Linked DNA regions of Homo sapiens: region 1 is linked to region 2. The links are contacts of gene promoters, found by promoter capture Hi-C in blood cells and fetal thymus (Javierre and others, 2016). All regions are on one chromosome and are shown on one strand. Each heading gives the region's core, a stretch centred on a gene start or on the middle of the fragment in contact. The rest is flanking DNA. Distances are from core to core; before and after follow the strand shown. Region 1 has its middle 21 kb from the start of IREB2. Region 2 holds the start of CIB2 (calcium and integrin binding family member 2).

What was found. The method cuts DNA at HindIII sites, captures the fragments that hold promoters and counts their contacts. A CHiCAGO score of 5 or more calls a contact.
Region 1: a contact is called between a fragment that was not itself captured here and the fragment with the promoter of CIB2 in region 2, in 1 of 17 cell types (total CD4 T cells). The highest score is 5.0, in total CD4 T cells.

What each region holds. Positions count from the first base shown.
Region 1 is chr15:78,415,953-78,418,652 of GRCh38, reverse strand. No RefSeq gene overlaps it. Among named protein-coding and RNA genes, the nearest start is that of IREB2, 21 kb to the left of the region's middle. The HindIII fragment of the contact is 3,863 bases long and covers 1-2,700 here.
Region 2 is chr15:78,130,094-78,132,793 of GRCh38, reverse strand. CIB2 (calcium and integrin binding family member 2) reads left to right here and starts at 1,349. Exons shown (of 6, transcript NM_006383.4): 1 at 1,349-1,629. The coding sequence starts at 1,579. RefSeq lists a silencer at 1,125-1,644. The HindIII fragment of the contact is 4,409 bases long and covers 1-2,700 here.

The DNA.
Region 1 (2,700 bases), core at 157-2,656, 290 kb before region 2:
CTGAGATGGTGCCACTGCACTCCAGCCTGGGTGACAGCAGGAGACTCAGTCTCTAAATAAATAAATAAATAAATAAATAAATAAATAAACTCTCCAGCTTGATATTTGAGCCCTCTCACCTTCCTGGATCTTCTGCGTCATCTCACTGAGTCATCTGCTTTCCAGGGGAAGCAGGCCCTGAGCTTCCCCACATCAGCCTCTGTTTCTGCTGTTCCACCCTCACCCCCCGTTCATCTCCCATGAATGCCACCCCCTTCCTCTCCAGCTAGGCAAACCCACCCATCCATCACCCTGCACCCTTTTTTTCCCTGAAATCTTCCCAATCTTTCACACCTCAATGTCACTGCTTCTCTCTCAACATGGGTGACATCATTATTGCAGCCTTCCTGACAGCTCTTCCGGCAGACCCATGGAAGGGCTCTTTCAAACCAGGCACTGCTGAGCAAAAGGGAGGCCGGGTTGGAAGGATTTGGCAGGGCTACTGAGGACCCTTCAGCACCACTGCCTCCCACTAGGCCCATCTCTTGAGGCCCTCCCCCAGCCTCTTGGCCTTTGAACTTTCAGAGCCCTGCCCTACACATTCTGCCTGCTCTTTGTCACCCCATTCCCCGAGCTCAATCTTTCATAATGTAAGCATCTATCTCCCAGCACCGGGTATATCTGTAGTATTGAACTTTTTTTTTTTTTGAGGCAGGGTCTCGCTCTGTCACTCAGGCTGCAGTGCAATAGTGTGATCTCAGCTCACTGCAGCCTCTGCCTCCTGAGTTCAAGCAATTCTCCCACCTCAGCTTCCTGAGTAGATGGGACTACAGTCATGTGCTACCACTCCCAGCTAATTTTTGTATTTTTAGTAGAGACGGGGTTTTGTCATGTTGCCCAGGCTGGTTTTGAACTCCTGATCTCAAGTGATCTGCCTGCCTCAGCCTCCCCAAGTGCTGGGATTGAGGCATGAGCCACTGCACCCAGCTGCGTTGAACATTTTCTATTTTTCATACAATTCAGCCCAAAACATAAGCCCACTACTGTATCTGGTACTCAGCTGAAGAAGCTGCTGTCTATCTATGCTGGAGGAAGAGCTGGCTGTATTGATCTTATTCAAAGATATTTTTGTCATGCAATAATGCAATATATAGAAAACCTAGAGGATTTTCAAGGTCATTTTGACTAAATAGGATTTTTACTTTAAATGCTGACTTTAGAACCTATGCCTGTATAAGATGTGGCTCTGCTATGCAGAGTTTGTGAGATTATTAGGAAGTATGACTCCATTTGGAAAAATAGCTGCTCTGAATAGGTAGAGACCTTTGCAAACTGTCTCTGAATCCTAGGATGTCTTCTCCTGTAGGGCATGAGCCTTGGGAGGAAGCTGGGAGCTGATTCAACTGATGCGACAGTGTTCTGACCCCTTTTTGTCAAATGAAGCAAGTGAGGCCTGAAGGAAATAATGTATACAGTGGTCCATTTCCAAGAAAATGTGCCTTAAATCAGCTTAGGTTAGCAAACTACATAAGAAACAGGATATACTAGGCCCCTGCTTGGATAGCCGATGCCTGCTTGTTGTGCGCAGCCCCCTCACCACCCCCTGCCGCCTTAGTTGCCCTCACCCGAACCAAAGAAGTTTAGTCTAAAATGAAAGTTTATTAGTCTGCAAAATAGCTTGCTTTGTCTGTTCTTATCAGCCTGCCCAGCTACGTAGGTCGTAAGTCAAACACTTAAAGAGCCCCTGAGCTAACTAGGATTGCGATGCATTGTGGGCTGCAGCAAAATGCAGCAAGACAACCCTAAAGAAAACACCTAAAGCCCCTATCCAACAACCAATAGACGACGTCCAGGAAGATTGTGACCCCACAGTACTCAAGCCTATGAGGAACAGGGGAAGGGACCTGCTCACTAGGGTATAAATTGCTTGTTAAAACTGTGCTGGGTGTGTCTGCCCATCAGACACCCAATCTTGCAAGACTATCATTAAAAGTCTCACTTTTGCTGATCTCCAGGTCTCCGAGTTCATTCTTTGGGTTTGGACAGGTAAGTTTGTTTCTCACAAGGCCCAGAGAAAGGAAGCGACTTATCGGAAAGTCTGAAGGAGAAGACAGCAGGTGAGACCCAGCTTGGCAAATTGTCACAATCAGGACACCACCATGATCAGATACCACGACTGCTGCTGCTAGCTGAAGAGTCACTCTGTGCCTGCCACCATCTATACTAGTTAATGCCTCATGCTCTGCTTCTTAATACACATAAAGCGTGTGACTGGACACTGGAATTCTCAAGGGCCACTGAAAAATCAGCAGACCCAGCAGAAGTATGGCCTCCTCCTCACCTTCCGTGCAAGCCCATCTGATATGCTGAGCCCAAATCACACCACAAATCCTGCTACAGGGGAGTCTGGGAAATACAGATCTGAGCTTTCCAGCTTCCTCAGTGGAGGAAGGAACACAAGGAGAATGAAATTGATGCTGAGCACCAATTCATCATTATAAACTTGTTTCTGTTAAACAATTAGCTGCAGTAGATTCAGATTCAAGTGTCTACAAATCAAAACCCCTGTCCCACACAGGTTCTGTCTCTGGTGAGAGTGTCCCTTCTCACTTCCTCCAGGAGATGCCTGTTCCATTGTGTGACAGACTGTCTATGAAGATGTTTTCTTTTATGTTGAGCTGAAACCTGTGCTCATCTGGTTCTCACCTGTCCCAACTTTGC
Region 2 (2,700 bases), core at 100-2,599:
AAAGGCACTTGAAAAATAGCAGATGCAAGAAGGGCACTCTTGATCATCCTTCTTTTTCTAAAAAACAGGAGATGAGGCCGGGCATGATGGCTCACATCCTATAATCCCAGCACTTTGGGTGAGAAGCCAAAGTGGGTGGATTGCTCGAGCCTGGGAATTCAAAACCAGCCTGGGCAACACGGCAAAACCCCATCTCTACAAAAAAAATACAATAATTGGCCGGGCGTGGTGACTCAGGCCTCTAATCCTAGCACTTCGGGAGGCTGAGGCAGGTGGATCACCTGAGGTCAAGATTTCGAGACCAGCCCAGCCAACATGGTGAAACCTCTCTCTACTAAAAATACAAAAAAAAATTAGCTGGGTGTGGTGGCATGCCCCTGTAGTCCCACCTACTAGGGGAGGCTGAGGCAGAAGAATCGCTTGAACCCAGGAGGCGGAGGTTGTAGCGAGCCAAGATCGCGCTACTGCACTCCAGCCTGGGCGACAGAGGGAGACTCCATCTCAAAAAAAAAAAAAAGTATTTAGATTTTGCCAGTTCTCAGGGTCTTCATTTCCTTATGAGGGCTTCCACGTCATGTAAAACTTGTATTAAATCTGTTTTTCTCCCCTTAATCTGTCTTATGCCAAATTAATTCTCAAGCCCAGCCAAAGACCCTAGGAGGGCAGAGGTAAAGTCCTGCTTCCCTTACAATGGCATCTGCTTAAAAGCTCCAAAAAATGTCTTGGCCTTTGTCACACTTCTGTGGACACAGTCAAGTCCTTTAAATCCTCTCAAGTCTCACGTTTGTAACCAAGCCAAGTAAATCCTGTCCTGCTCCCTAAGGAACACAGAAGGTCTGAGATGCCCTGCCTAGGCCGCGCCCAAAGGCCAGATGGGCTTCCCGAGGCCTGGCCGGGAGGGCCTCAGATGTCAGCTTGACTGACCCCCTCCTTCTCCCCAGAGGGACAGGGCCCGGGTAAGGGCTTGACCAAGGTCGCGACGCGAGACGGTGGCGGAGCCCGGCCCCAGCTAGATCCACGCACTCACAGTCCTCGCTGCCGCCCCCGCCCCAGGTCAAGGGGCGCCACTCGCCCCACTGCCCGCCTCGAGAGGGTTTTTTCCCAGGCCCCGCACCCTCACGCCGTGCGACCTGGACTCCCACGGCGGGACCCGGGCTCACACCTCTTCCTGCTGCGGGGCGGAGTCGCCGCCGCTCCGGGTCTTTGTCCCCGCCTCCGAGACCCCCGCGCGCCCCCAGCACTTCCGGCCGCGGGAGCCAAGGGTTCGTGCCGGGCAGCGTCTCCCGGGGCCAGGTCGCCTCCTGCCGGGACCCGGGCGCGCTGCAGCCGCGGAGCCGGGTGCCCCGCCCTCTTCCCGCCGGCGGCGGAGTCGCTGCCGCTCCGGGTTCCCGTCCCCGCCTCCGAGACCCCCGCGCGCCTCCTCCAGGCGAGCTGCGGGGCGGGAAGGGTCCGGCCACCGTGGGCCGCTGCCAGCCGCGGGGCTGCCGAGGGCCGCGGGCACGGGGCGCTGGCTCCGGGTCTGGCGGCCGCTGATGGGAGTCGGAGCCCGGGCGGGCGAGCGGCGGCGCGGCGGCCACCATGGGGAACAAGCAGACCATCTTCACCGAAGAGCAGCTAGACAACTACCAGGTGAGCTCGGCGCGCCCGGCCCCCAACACAGGCCCCGCCGCCCCGCCGCCCCTCCCTTTTCTCGGTCGCTGGCCGAGGCCTCCCGAGAGCCAGCTCTCCCAGGTTCAAACCCTGCCTCTGCCTTCAGCTCGACGCGTGACCTTGGGCCGGTGACTTCCCCTCGCCGTGCCTCAGTTTCCCCACCGGTGGAATAAGAGCTCTTTCCAGTTGGAAGAACCTCTCAGGCGCGCCTCTCTCCAGCTACTCTCGCCCTAGGCAGGACCCGAACCCCTCTCCAGCCACCCATTCCAGCGCCCATCTGGCCCGGAGAGGGAGTCAGTAAACTAGGCTGGACGGAGGACCGCCCTCCCCGCTCCCTGCCCCCCAGCCCCAGGAAGGAGCCCAGGAGAGCGAGTCTCTGTAAAGCAGAAATGAGAGCTGGCGTCCTGTCTGGTCTAGGAGTGGGGTGCATCAGTCCCCACATGCAGTCTTCCCTTGGGACTGTCTTGTTTATCGGCTGGGGTTCGCTCCTTCTGACCCCAGCATGGAGATAACTGGAGCAAGAACGCAAGCCCGGTAGCAGCCTTCCAGGGCCACCTCTCCCAGCTCCCTTAGGCCCTCAGTAGCCACCTCCTTAGACCTTTCTAGGTTTTCCTGCCTCCAGAGCCAGCTTTCCAGATCTGGAATCCCAATACCGTCCCACCCAGGTAAAAACTTCGCTGTGGTTGCAGGATGAAGCCCAACCCCTTGGCTTACCCGGAGCCCTGGCCAATTGCTCAGCTTATCTCTGCAGCCTCAGTCTCCCCAGGTCCCTTCCCTGCCCTCTGCATGGCAGCCGCCTTAAAACCATTTGCAGTTGCTCCAGCTCACCAGGCTCATTCCTCCCTCCCTCTCTCCCTCTGCCCATGCCATTTCCTGGGCCTGGATGCCTTTCCCCCCTCCAGAGGATCTCTTTCACCCTTCAAGTCCCACATCTGATGCCTCTCCCCTGACTCCCCAGGCGGAGGGGGCAGGATTGTGTTGTGGCCTGTGTAACTGGGCAGGAGGAACACCAACAGGGTCTCCATAGGCACTTGTTGCCTTCATCAGTGC